3 separate regions of the Homo sapiens genome follow, and all the other regions are linked to region 1. The links are contacts of gene promoters, found by promoter capture Hi-C in blood cells and fetal thymus (Javierre and others, 2016). All regions are on one chromosome and are shown on one strand. The core of a region is centred on a gene start or on the middle of the fragment in contact, and the rest is flanking DNA. Distances in the headings are between cores, read along the strand shown. Region 1 holds the start of NSD3 (nuclear receptor binding SET domain protein 3). Region 2 has its middle 94 kb from the start of TACC1. Region 3 has its middle 25 kb from the start of ASH2L.

Region 1 (4,527 bases), core at 1,512-4,011:
TTCCTCACAGAATTTCAAACAAATTCAGGCTGAATATTATCAAATTAAAATACTACAAGCTGAGAGGGTGCTTTTAGTGTAAAAGCCAGATTTACAAAGTACCACTTTAACAACATTCAATTTCATTTTTCTAACAAACCAAGAATATATCCTAAGCTTCTGTATAACAACTGAGAGGATGTTGCCATTTAGGTAGGTTAAATGTAGTTCAACTGGTTTGAGTCCACCATATTACAATGTTAACAGGCCTTCTTGGTATTAGAGAACAGTTTCAATATCAATGTGATAGGTTAAAGTTTGGATTACTCCAACTGCTATAATAAAAACAAAAGGTCACACACACATTTAATCCAATATGAAATAAAATAGGCTCTACTTAACACCAATGTATGTTCTGTAAATTTGTCAGGATTTAAACCTTAGAATAGTAATTATTTCAAATTGTACAAGTAGTTACAGTTGAATATATTAGTTACTGTAGTTTCCTGAGAGTCAACTGAAGTTTCAATCAAAAAACGAACAAACAAAACAACAACAAAAAAACCCTGGCATCTCAATGAGACTCTAAGAACTGCATGCCTACTTCACAGATCATTGCACTGTGCTGAACTGGCATCTGGAGATTGTATTGAGCCAGCTACATGAAGGCAAAGAGAAGAGATGGGGAAAAGAGAGTTTATTTAAAAAAGAAAATACTATTCTTAACACACTCATCACTTAACACGCTCATCACCTATAAGCAAGAGCTATCAGAAATACTATTTAAAAATACATACATTTCTAATTTTTCAACATTCAAAATACAGCAAGCCGATAATCTACCACAAGCAGAGCTTCCTACCCCTTTCACCCGGACACAGCGCTTTGCCAAGAGCACAGGCCCAAGTAAAATAACCGATGCAATTTCCTTGTTTACTTAAAGAATTGCAGAAAACATGTTGACTGCTTCTGAGGCTTCCGAAACAAACGAATTTTCAATACGTAAAAGACTTCACGATCATGTTTGATATGTAAGCGTAGTAATGATTCCTTCAGCTAGTAAAAATCTAGTTTTAAATTGATTAAATGGGTTAAATTTACACTGCAGCTCATTAGCATACCTTGTTTGCAACCAGAAGGAAGAGGGTAAAGAGAGGGAGAAAAGCATCAAAAAGGTAGTGATGGAAAACATCACTACCTCCTTTGGCGGTTATGAATAATTTAAAATGACCCAAGACGTAAGGGGAAAAGAGTTCATGAATAGAAAGAAAGGGGGCTAACAGTCTGAATTGGCCCCTTCCAGATTCATACTGATGTCGGAGAGGAAAAGGAATTTATTTACACTGCAGTGCCTTGGCAGCAAACATGGCTGCCCCTGCCCCCTTTAAATCGAAATAATCTTCACTCCCTCCCCAAAACCATCAAATTATGGCCATGTCTCTCCCTGCCTCCCTTCCATAACACAAACACATCGCCTTCTCCCTCAAAACAGTAAAACCCACACCTCCCCATTTCACAACAATCACAATCCCATAACCACCAGCTTCTCTATTCTCTAGCCTTGAAAGAAAGACACAGAATACACACAAATACAGGAACAAAAGGCCTCCCTTCCTAACACTTTAACGACCTCCATCCCCTTCTCTTCCTCCCACTCTGACGCTAAGTCGATCGTTCTCATCCCTGTCATCATTCAGTTAATTTCCTTCCCTAGCCCAATCCTGTCTTCCAGTTTCCTGCGTCTATTTCCCATTCTCCTATTGCAGCCTGCCTCATCCCCTTTCCTAATCCACCTTTTCCTTCACTTCCATTCCTCATTTCTCCCTTCATTCCCATAAAATGCCCCATTTCTCCAGCAAATTTATCCCCTTCTCCCAGACTCTTCTGGTTCCTACACTCCATCCCCAAATCTCCCTATTTATCAGTCCACCCAGGTCTGTAATCTCCATGCAACTCTTCTCCCCTTTCCCTGCCCCTCCCCGATCCATCCTTATCCCCGCCCCCATCCCACTTTCCCAATTCCCAGCTCAGCGCCACTCCGACTCCCATCCCACTCCCCACCTCCCCTGGCCCACCCCCCAATTCCCTCCACACCCCCCACCTTGCCATCTGCTCCTCCGTCAGGACTCCCCTCGAGCCCTTTCAGGCCACCCGCTTCCCCTTCCATTCCTCCTGGGGTCTGGCGCTCCATCCCTAGGTCGCCCCCTCCCCGTCGTTCCCTCCTCAGCCCTTCCTAGCACTACACACGCGCGCGCGCGCACACACACACACACACACACACACACATACACACACGCACACGCACTTTACCTTCAGTTTGTTCCATTCTAACCCCCCGGCCGTGTCAGTGCGATCACAGGAGAGACACGGAGGCCCGGAGTGGGGCTGGGGTGCGGGCAGCCGCTGGGGCCGCGCGAGGAGGAGGCGGAACCGAGCTAGGCCGCATGAAATCCCCGGGCTAGATTTTCCCCGCGCCGGACGCCTCTGCCATGGCGGCCGGCACTGAGGAGGGCCACGGCCGGGCCGGGCCGGGCGTGCTGCGGGAAGAGGAAGGCTCGGGAGGTGGGATGGGAAGGGGAGGCCGAGGGACGGGGGTCGCCGCGCCGCCGCTGCTGCCAGAGAGGAGCCTGCGGCTGGCAGCCCGGCCTGGGTAGCACGGTCCTCGGCGCTCGGCTCGGAATTCGCACGCCTCTCCGCGGCGACCTGTGCACAGCCCCCTCGGCCTCCGCCTCCGTGCTGGCCGCCGCCGCCGCCTCTCCCGCCGCCGCCGCGCACAAAGCCCCCCCACCCCGACTCTCGGGGCGCCGCCGCCGCCAAATCCTCAGCCCCTCATTGGCCGCGGGCCGCGGCGCCTGCCGGGAAATGCAGTCCCTGGTTCGGGACGCTGGGGCTCCGGAGGAAGCGGCGAGTCGGCGGGGCGGAGGGGGCGGGAGCGCGAACCAGGAACGCCCGCGGCAGCTAGCGTCTGGACGACTAGGGAGACCGGGCGAGAGGGCCGAGGAACGAGGGACGGGGAGGGACTGTACGTGGGAGAGTGACACACAAAACACCCCGGGAAGCCGGAGGAGGCGTGGAAAGGTGGGGCCCGGGAGGTAAAACTGGGATCGGCGCGTTCAGTGAGGCTGATTAAAGAACAACGCGCAACCAGCGCCATACGGCGCTCCTCAGGGTGACTCGGCTCTCTAGCTCTTAAGGGTTAGAAGCGACCCTCGCACGGTCCCCGGTGGGTCACCGCGCGAGGGCGGGGCAGTCCAGGCGACCCCTCGGCCGTCTCCCGTCCTACGGCTGTCAGGGAAGGGCTCCGGTTCCGGTAGGGTCTGCATTTGGAAAGCCGGGGGCGATGCAAGACCGCCTTGGCGTCGTCTCCCTCTCAGCCCCGGCTGAGCTGTCGGATGGTCCCCCTCCCCCGGTTGCAAGCAGTAGGAGACCCGGCCGGCGGCGCCGGCTCGCCGAGGGAGCGCCTCGACCTCCCCGGCAGGCGCCGGCCCCGCGCGCCTCTTCCTGCTCTGCTGCGGCCCGGAGGCTTGTGGGTAACCGGGAGGACGACGTCAGCGCCCGCCGCATCCCCGGGTGCCCCCCAGCCGCGGGGGACCGCGACGGCTCCGTGACCGTCACGTGCCGGAGGCCGCGGCTGCTCGCGGCCAGACCTTCGCATCGAGGGACGTGAGGGACATTTGTCCTAGAGGGCCCAAGATAAGAACGAGAGGAAGAACCGGGAGGCAACTCTCCGTCATCCTCTAGCCCCCCGCATCCTAGGAAACGTATGGAAAACAATGGAAGGTTAAGTGTGTGCACAGTGATCTGGCCCTGCAGGAGTGTGCCGACCAGGTGATATTTCCTGGGGCCTGGTGATAAGGATTTGGAAGGTTACAGCACAGAGACGTGAACGTAAAAAGGAAACAGAGGCAGCAAGCAAATGAGGAAACCGATACTCTGTTCTGAGAATAAAGCCATTTTACCGCTAGACGTCATACTCTGTAGACGTTATAGTGCTGGATGTCTTTGGTACTATTACAAGAAATTAGATATCTCTATCTTTAAATATCACTTAAGGAAATTAAATGATTTCTACAGATCAGTTATTTAAAAGGGCACTAATTATGAACTATTTTTTTTAAACGTAACCCGGTTAATACTAGATACTGAGAATTATCAGTATTGGCTGGGCGCAGTGGCTCACGCCTGTAATCCCAGCACTTTGGGAGGCCGAGGCAGGCGGATCACGAGGTCCGGAAATCGAGACCATCCTGGCTAAGACGGTGAAACCCCGTCTCTACTAAAAATACAAAAAATTAGCCGGGCGTGGTGGGGGGCGCCTGTAGTCCCAGCTACTCAGGAGGCTGAGGCAGGAGAATGGCGTGAACCCGGGAAGCGGAGCTTGCAGTGAGCCGAGATCGCGCCACTGCACTCCAGCCTGGGCGACACAGAGAGGCTATGTCTCAAAAAAAAAAAAAAAAATCTCATTACTATTAATCATTAAATATTTTTAAACGTATGCTTTAAGTAGTACCACAAGTTACAGCTATCAGTAAAAGCATACTTTTTATT
Region 2 (4,527 bases), core at 947-3,446, 310 kb after region 1:
ACAGAAACAAATTCTGACTTGACCCCAAACAGCTCCCAAAGCTCAGGGTTTACTTTCCCTCTCTACACATCAATCTCAGCCCTCGGGGGGCTAGCAAGATGGGAGCAGAGTTCAGGGCACCCTTCAATCAGGAGTGGTGCTTTAGGCAGCATGGACAGGCCATGAATTATGTGAGCTCATTAAAAATATCTTTCTTTAGTCATTTCATATTCCTTTATAGAATGTAGCTCTATTTTGACCTTGGACCAGAATGGAACAAAGATTTTAACTTAACAACCCCTTCATCTGCTAATGAGAGGACACCTCTTGCACTTCAGCTTCCTCTCTCACTTGAATGTTTTTTTGGTTCAGTTTTAATTTTTTGTATTATATTCATTTATGTGCTCAATTTAGGTATTGAAAGTTCTAACTGTTGCCTGCAGAAAGGGTACAAGCCTCACAACTTTTGCCATGAATATGCATAGAGATTGACCTTTGGGAACCATTGTTCTACACTTCAGCATGGGGCCAATCTGAAATCAGGGTACATTTTCAAGCCATCAGGTACAACTTACAGCTCCATACACCAAGACCTGTCCTTGGCACCATTCCCCCTGGCCTGTGGCAATCACAGTAAGTGGAACTGGCTCCAGTTCTGGATCCGGCCTTAAAGCTCTGAGCAAGAAGCTTTGTCTGCCACTTCCGGTTTCCAGTAATCCTCATATGAGTAACCATCAGGAATAAAGCACATTCAGAATGCCTAAAAAATAAAATGTAACTACAGAACATTTCAGAATGTGTGGCTTTATCTTTTACTTCACAGAGTATTGAGGTGACATTTGGAAATCACAATTAAAGTACAATTTAGTGCTATTAATATGGATTTAAAAGATAGAAAACCACTAGTTTGGTTCTTGACATGAATTTTTTTTCCTTTCTTTCTTTTTTTATTAGAGATAGGGTCTTGCTCTGTCACCCAGGCTGGAATGCAATGGTTTGGTCCTTACTCACAGCAGCCTTGAACTCCTGGGCTCAAGTGTTCCTCCCACCTCAACCTTGCCACATATTTTAAACTGACACTACTCACCCTCTCCAAATTCTTTATTAAATCAGAATGGGGGAAGACAGGGTCAGAAATCTACCTCCTACTCTAAAAGTACAGGCATTTTCATGTGCATTACAAGCATATTAAAATATATATGCATTTTGAATTTAGCTGTGTTTAAATGGATTCACCACATTAATGAAACCACTGTCACAGGGTTAACTGGAATTATAAGCCAGGCTTTAGGCAGAATTATAGCTAGGCATTGTCTGGGATATAAAAACTGATGCACTTTGACCCATTTCTCTGCAGCTGCTAAGTAACCAGAAGTCATGTAGCTCACTGACCACGTGCTCCCCCATTGTTCCCATAGATAGAATCTCTAACGACTGTACCTTTTTACCCAAGAATTGCTTTGCTTGAGGTGTTTTTCAGATCCTGAATTCCAGCAGAATGGCTGACTCCAGCTGGTCTGAAGACCCCCATCAAGGAACTGACTCAGCACAGGAATGCAGTTTCTTTATCTCCCTGTCCCATGATGTCACCCCTCACTTCTCAATCAGTGATGATCATACTTTTTAGTCCTTTACCAAACAAGATCCCTTAAACACTCCATCCCCAAACCTCTTGCGGGGGCAGATTTGAGGTTTTTTCCCATGTCCTCATTTGGCTGCCTTGCAATTGTTAAACTCTTTCTCTGCTGCAACTCCTGCTGTTCCAGTGTATTGGTATGTTACCACACAATGGGCAATTGAACCTGGTGGTCCTGTAACATTAACATCTGACTTAATTATTTTACAGCAGTGTATCTGGGAATGAAGTTGTGGTTTTCAGTCTCCCAGCTAGCCTGCCTACCACAGTAGATTTGGATAGAGGAAGCAAAATAACATAAGTAATTTCTAACAAGATCCTACTTCTCTTGCAGCGGCAAATTTTCAGTAAGGGTAACTGTACCTTTTTGACTTTGAAAATAATTACCTAATAAAAATTAAAAACCTACTTTGGGAGGCCGAGGCAGGATTACTTGAGGACAGAAGTTCAAGACCACCCTGGAAAACATAGAAAGACCCTGTCTCTATAAAAATTTTAAAAATAAAAAAATTAGCTGAGTGCAATGACATGTGCCTGTAGTCTAAGCTACTCAGGAGGCTGAGTGGGAAGGATTGCTTGAGTCCAGGAGTGTGAGTCCAGGACTGTGACCTTGACATGGTTTGGCTATGTCCACATTCAAGTCTCATCTTGAATTGTAGCTACCATAATCCCCATGTATTGTGGGAGGAACCCAGTGGGAGGTAATTGAATCAAGAGGTAGGTTTTTCCCATGCTGTTCTCATGATAATGAATATGTCTCCCGAGATCTAATGGTTTTATAAAAGGTAGTTCCCCTGCACACGCACATGCTCTCTTGCCTGCCACCATGTAAGACGTACCTTTGCTCCTCCTTTGCCTTCTGCTATGATTGTGAGGCCTCTCCAGCCAGGTGGAGCTGTGAGTCCATTAAATCTCTTTTTCTTTAAAATTACTCAGTTTTGGGTATTTCTTCATAACAGTATGAGTCAAACTAATACAGACCTATAATCATGCCACTGCACTCTAGCCTGGGCAGTGGAACAAGATCTTGTCTCTAAAAAAAAGGAAAGAGAAAAAGAGAAAGAAAGAAAAACATTAAGAACCCTGAAAGACTTTAGCTTAAAGTTCTGCAAAGTAGAAAAACACAATTTGGTCCCAGTGAACTCTTTCATCTCACTATTGCCAGACTCTGGGTTCTGCATTCTCAGCTAATTCAGAGAAGTAGATTTCTGCAAAGACAATTCTATACAGAAGTATAAATCCTTCTGCAGTTCCAGCCCAGGGATTCATGAGAGGTTTACCCCCATCATCCTTTCCTCTTTCTCCCAGTTCTAGTAAGAAGACAGCTTGGAGGCCAGCCATGGTGGCTTACGCCTGTAATCCCAGCAGTTTGGGAGGCTGAGGCGGGTGGATCACCTGAGGTCAGGAGTTCAAGACCAGCCTGGCCAACATGGTGAAACCCCGTCTCTACTAAAAATACAAAAAATACAAAAGATAAAATACTAAAAATACAAAAAATACAAAAATTAGCCAGGCATGGTGGCAGGCACCTGTAATTCCAGCTACTCAGGAAGCTGAGGCAGGAGAATCGCTTGAACCTGGGAGGCGGAGGTTGCAGTGAGCTGAGATTGCACCATTGCACTCCAGCCTGGGGGACAAAAGTGAGACTTTGTCTCAAAAAAAAAAAAAAAAAAAAAAGACAGTTGGGCACCATGAGGAATTTGCTTATGTGCATCATTCTGCTGTCATCAGCTGAATGCCACCTCATTTTGGGCACAAGATAGATACTGTCAGTCACTGCAAACCATGTCATCAATGATGTCAAGAGAAAAACAGTTTTCCCTAATTCTCTTTCTAGGTTCCTTCTATCCAGTGTACTAAAACTCCCATAGCTATAGACAGGGCAGCTGGATAATTTCAGGCTCACAAATGGATAGAGCAGCACTGTATCCCATCACATAAGGGTTGGTCATTTCTCATTTACAGTGCATTGCAAAGAGCCTAGGTAGGGAGGCTGAGTGTGTCTTAACTCCCATTTGGATAATTGGCACTCAGAGTCTATGCAAAGAAAAGAAAGATCAGTTAATAAACTCTCATCACTGCCCAACATCCTGTACATCCGAAGTGACCTATGAAGCTTCTTTTACTTTCTGGGGCCCCAAAAACATGCCACCAACTGATTCAGGATCAGAACCAATGAGTCCAGGATAAACAGGTCGTTGGGGATCCTTGCCTTCCCTGGGGGTTGGGTTGGTCTGCTTGGCTGATCTGAGTCTGGAGTCTGGTGTGCCTGGGATGAGCACCTCCAGAGACTGAGTGTCACCCAGAACATTTGCCCTGCCTCCAGCCATCCCAGGGTTGACTTCACTGTTCCAGGCCCTTGAATTTGGTCATTTGGACTGTTGCTCCTCCCTGATAGGAATCTACCTTTTGTCCTCTTTCATAGTAGACAGGCTTGACCTCCTTCCAGTGACAGGTCATACAGGTGACCTGCCACCAGTCTCTATATGACTCACATTTACAAGATACTTGTATTAGAATAGGCTAGGTTGTGCTGTGATAAGAAATTAACCCCTGGATCCCAAAGCCGAAAACAAAAAAAGTTTATTTCTTGCATATGCTATATGTCCATTGCAAGTCCAAGTTGGGCATGTATGTGTTGAGGGAATTCTGCTCCATCAGTAACTCAAGGATCCAGGCTGATGGAGGCTCTACCATCAGTACCGGCAACAGCTAGGACATCTACAACACAGGACTCCTTCGGTCTCCTCGGCAGCCTGGACCTCTCTCCTGCGCTTCAGTGCTTCAGTAGGAGTGATCGGTGTCACTTTTGCTCACATCCCATTGGTATGGAGTCACCAAGCCCCATCTAACCAAAAAGGGCTGGGAAAGCTTGTCTTCTGTGTGCCTAGAGAGAGTGGGAAACCAGATTT
Region 3 (4,527 bases), core at 1,080-3,579, 300 kb before region 1:
AGATCATGCCACTGCACTCCAGCCTGGGTGACAGAGCGAGACTCTGTCTGAAAAATAAATAAATAAATAAAAATAAAGGAACAAGCCTCATTCACAGGAGAGAATGCAGTTTCATTTATTCAACAAATATTTACTGAGTGCCTTATATGTGCCAGGCATGGTTCTAGGTGCCTACGATACATCAGTAAACAAAACAGACACAAATCTCTACCCACAGCCAGGCGCGGTGACTCACGCCTGTAGTCCCAGCACTTTGTGAGGCTGAGGAGGGTGGATCACCTGAGGTCAGTAGTTCAAGACCAGCCTGAACAACACTGTGAAACCCCATCTTTACTACAAATACAAAAATTAGCTGGGCATGGCAGCGTGTGCCTGTAATCCCAGCTACTCAGGAGGCTGAGGCAGGAGAATGGCTTGAACCCAGGAGGCAGAGGTTGCATGCAATGAGTTGAGATAAGCCACCGCACCCTGGCCTGGGTGACAGAGCGAGGCTCTGTCTAAAAATAAATAAATAAATAAAAGCCAGGCCTGGTGGTGCACGCCTGTAGTCCCAGCTACTCCAGAGGCTGAGGCAGAAGAATTGCTTGAACCCTGGAGACGGAGGTTTCAGTGAGCCAAGATCGCGCCGCTGCACTCCAACCTGGCTGACAGAGTGAGACTCCATCTCAAAATATATATACCCACCTTTTATGGAGCTCACCTTTTCCTAATAATAATAAGAAGAAAACTCTTTTTACTGTGTTTGATGGGACTCAGATATCTGGTTACTGGAAGTAGAAGTAACCAGGAATGCTTAGTTGGCTCAGTGTATAAACACTAGAAATGAAGGCCCAGAAGCTTCAGCAGAGACTGAATGACTGCTCCATTGAGATGAACTACCGCATAATTATCTTCATCATGACTTTAACAAACACAGAAAGCTTTGTTTTGCTTAATTGATGATAACAACATGGGGGCATCGTAGTGGGGGAGAGAGTGAGTCCTTGGAGTCGAGTCCAGGGCATCTGACCCACTGTTCTTTGTTAGGAGAGAGCCTAGAGGCCTTCAACAAAGGCTGTGTTGGAGGAAAAACTGAAGCTAAATTAATATTTAAATGGAATAAACTGAAGCTAAATTAATATAAGTAGAGAGTTTATTTGCACCAAGCTTGAGGATTGTAACATGGGAGCACAGATTTAAGTTTCCTGAATATACATTCCAATTAGCAGCAGTTACAAGTGGATTTATTTATTTATTTATTTATTTATTTTTTGAGAGGGAGTTTCGCTCTTGTTACCCAGGCTGGAGTGCAATGGCGTGATCTCAGTTCACCACAACCTCCACCTCCCAGGTTCAAGCAATTCTCCTGCCTCAGCCTCCTGAGTAGCTGGGACTACAGACACGCACCACCATGCCTGGCTAATTTTGTATTTTTAGTAGAGACAGGATTTCTCCATGTTGGTCAGGCTGGTCTCGAACTCCCAACCTCAGGTGATCTGCCTGTCTCAGCCTCCCAAAGTGCTAGGATTACAAGCGTGAGCCACCATGCCCAGCCACAAGTGGACTTTTTTTTGTTTTTTGAAACAGAGTTTTGCTCTTGTCGCCCAGGCTAGAGTGCAATGGCTCAATCTCGGCTCACTGCAACCTCTTTCTCCTGGGTTCAAGCGATTCTCCTGCCTCAACCTCCCGAGTAGCTGAGATTACAGGTGCCCACCACAACACCTGGCTAATTTTTGAATTTTTGGTAAAGATGGGGTTTCACCATGTTGGCCAGGCTGGTCTTGAACTCCTGACCTCAGGTGATCCACCCACCTCAGCCTCCCAAAGTGCTGGGATTACAGGTGTGAGCCACCGTGCTGGTCCACAAGTGGATTTTTAAAGGGAAAGAAGAGGCAGTTCCTGAGTTGTTTACCAAGAATTTCCATCAAAATAACATAAGCTGCTGATTGGCTATATACATTGTTAAGCTATAGGGTGTGGGTTATAGTGGCTGTTGCAGCACTGTTAGGTTAATTTATGGCTACTTTTAGCAATAGCAAGCAATTTCAAGAGATGAACACATAGCTCAAAATGGGGTGGGGGAAAGTAGGACGTGATTGCTATTTCATTTTAATGCCTCTTTGGGCCTGATAATTTAAAAGGACTCCCATGCATCAGATAAAACTTATTTTCTTACCTGGTACGGGGATGGGACATAACTTGTTTTCATACAAGTTCTCTCCCTTGGGTATTGAAGGCCCTGTGGTCAGTACAGGCTGGGAGCAGTGGCTCACGACTGTAATCCAAGCACTTCGGCAGGCCAAGGCAGGAGGATCGCTTGAGTCCATGAGTTCAAGACCAACCTGGGCAACATAGTAAATCCTGTCTCTACAAAAATTTTAAAATTAGCCAAGTGCGATGGCACACACCTGTAGTCCCAGCTACTTAGGAGGCTGAGTGGCGTGAACACATCTCACTGCAACCTTGACCTCCTGGGCTCAAACAATCCTCCTGCCTTGGCCTCCTGAATAACTAAGGCTACAGGCATGCACCATCACACTCGGCTAATTTTTTTTCTTTTTTTTTTGAGACAGAGTCTCACTCTGTCACCAAGGCTGGAGTGCAGTGGTGTGATCTCAGCTCACTGCAACCTCCACCTCCCGGGTTCAAGCAATTCCCCTGCCTCAGCCTCCTGAGTAGCTGGGATTACAGGCGCCCGCCACCATGACCGGCTAATTTTTGTATTTTTAGCAGAGACGGGGTTTCACCATGTTGTCTAGGCTGGTCTTGAACTCCTGACCTCAAGTGATCCACCTGCCTTGGCCTCCCAAAGTGCTGGGATTACAGGCGTGAACCATCACGCCCAGTCCAGCTAATTTTTTAAATTTTTTGTAGAGTCGGGGTCTCACTATGTTGCCCAGGCTGGTCTCCAACCCATGGGCCCAAGTGATCCTCCTAACTTGGCCTCCCAAAGTGCTGAGAGACAAAGCAGGGACCGCACCCTCCCTCTCCACTCCCCCACCTACTTGTTAGAGGCCTGCCAAGTCCCTCCCAAGCGTGGAAATAAAGGAAAATCTTGAGTTCCCTCAAAGAAAATTCCAAGCACCTAGCTAGCCTTGATAAATAAACGAGCAACGTGATAAGCAAGAATGTAATAGTAGCCTAAAACAACAGCAAAGGAAGCTAGAGCCAGGAAATGTTTGGTTCCCTATGTAAACTGAAGATAACATCTTAGCGCGTGTCCCTGAACTGTTTTTCAGAGACTGGACCCCCACCCAATGGATCTGCTGGCACACAGACCTCAGATAAGGAGAAACTGAGGACTGAACTCTGACAGCTGTCCTTTATTCTAAAGTTCTTCCTGAGGGGCCTAGAGCAAGTCACAGTCACAACATTGAGCTAACATTCTTTTCTTCTGACCCCAAATTTTTCTCCCTTAAACAATTGCAAATCAGAAAATCTTTGAATTTACCTGTTGCTTGTAACACCCCTACATTCCCCCGAACCCTCCTCGCCTTCAAGATACCCGACTCTTTTAAGCCAAAACCAATGTGTAAGCTTCATGTACTGACTTATGACTTTGCCTGTAACTTCTGCTTTCCCGAATTTTACCCCTGCCTTTAAGAACCCTTACCTGCAAGCTACTGGGGAAGTCAGGATTTGAGAGCGAGCTACCTGGTCCTTCCTGCTTGGTGCACTGCAAATAAATGTCTTCCTTTCTGCTGTTGCGGGACAATCAGAGACGGGAAAGACGAACAGAGTTCAGGAAAGCCTTTATTAAGGTGATCACCTGGCTCAGTAGGACTAGCATCCAGGAAAGTCTGAGCCTCGGCAAAGAAAGCAGCCACCTTTTAAGCAGTCAGTGGCTGAGAGCTACCTGGTGCAGGAAGCGTACTTACAGAAGTGAGAACAAAGGCAGTTGATCAGTCTTTTACATTTATGTATACTACATGTTCTACATCCTTGGGAAACTCTGTTTCTGTAACATACGCTTATCAACCTTGTAACTTTGCAGCTGCGCTAGGGAGGTGAAGCAGGAACTCGCTGAGCCTCAAGGAATGTGAAACTGGTGAGTACAGATAAGGCTTGCTGAGCACAGAAGGAAAAACAGGCAGTTAGTATTGTTCTCTAACTTAGACTACGTGGGGTGCAGGTTCTAAACTACATTTAGCTTTTGAAGGAAAAAGTAAAAATTTCTTGGTGGTCTTTGATTGTACTTGTAAAATTCATGAATTCCTTCTTCATCCCCCCCCCTTTGGTGCTCGCCATAAATGTAGATTGATAAAGAGCACCACAGTCGTTTATCTCTTCCTGTGTAGGCACGTATTCTTCCTGGGGGACTGGTTGGTATTTTTGTAATGCCATTATTTTGGTGGTAGTTGTTCCGTCCACTATTGCTTTAATAGTAGACTGGATGCTTCTGATGAGGAGAGGTAAAAGACAAGGCAGTATTAGACATCCTCCTACTATAGCTATAAAAACAATTATCAAGGTTTTAAAGCCTTCCAAGCATGAGAACCATCCTCCAAAAAGTGAGTTTGGGCTCCACCAGGACCAAGTCTGGACTGG

Evidence for each region. The method cuts DNA at HindIII sites, captures the fragments that hold promoters and counts their contacts. A CHiCAGO score of 5 or more calls a contact.
Region 2: a fragment that was not itself captured here is called in contact with the fragment with the promoter of NSD3 in region 1 in 4 of 17 cell types (endothelial precursors, M2 macrophages, M1 macrophages and 1 more); the score reaches 10.6 in endothelial precursors.
Region 3: a fragment that was not itself captured here is called in contact with the fragment with the promoter of NSD3 in region 1 in 10 of 17 cell types (erythroblasts, non-activated CD4 T cells, megakaryocytes and 7 more); the score reaches 9.8 in erythroblasts.

The regions. Positions count from the first base shown.
Region 1 is chr8:38,379,510-38,384,036 of GRCh38, forward strand. NSD3 (nuclear receptor binding SET domain protein 3) reads right to left here and starts at 2,762. Exons shown (of 24, transcript NM_023034.2): 1 at 2,290-2,762. It also overlaps a transcript of LETM2 not described here. RefSeq lists enhancers at 1,285-1,819, 2,110-2,900 and silencers at 2,549-2,948, 2,979-3,128, 3,319-3,668. The HindIII fragment of the contact is 5,398 bases long and covers 155-4,527 here.
Region 2 is chr8:38,691,202-38,695,728 of GRCh38, forward strand. No RefSeq gene overlaps it. Among named protein-coding and RNA genes, the nearest start is that of TACC1, 94 kb to the right of the region's middle. The HindIII fragment of the contact is 3,065 bases long and covers 665-3,729 here.
Region 3 is chr8:38,078,137-38,082,663 of GRCh38, forward strand. No RefSeq gene overlaps it. Among named protein-coding and RNA genes, the nearest start is that of ASH2L, 25 kb to the right of the region's middle. RefSeq lists a silencer at 1-289. The HindIII fragment of the contact is 2,370 bases long and covers 1,145-3,514 here.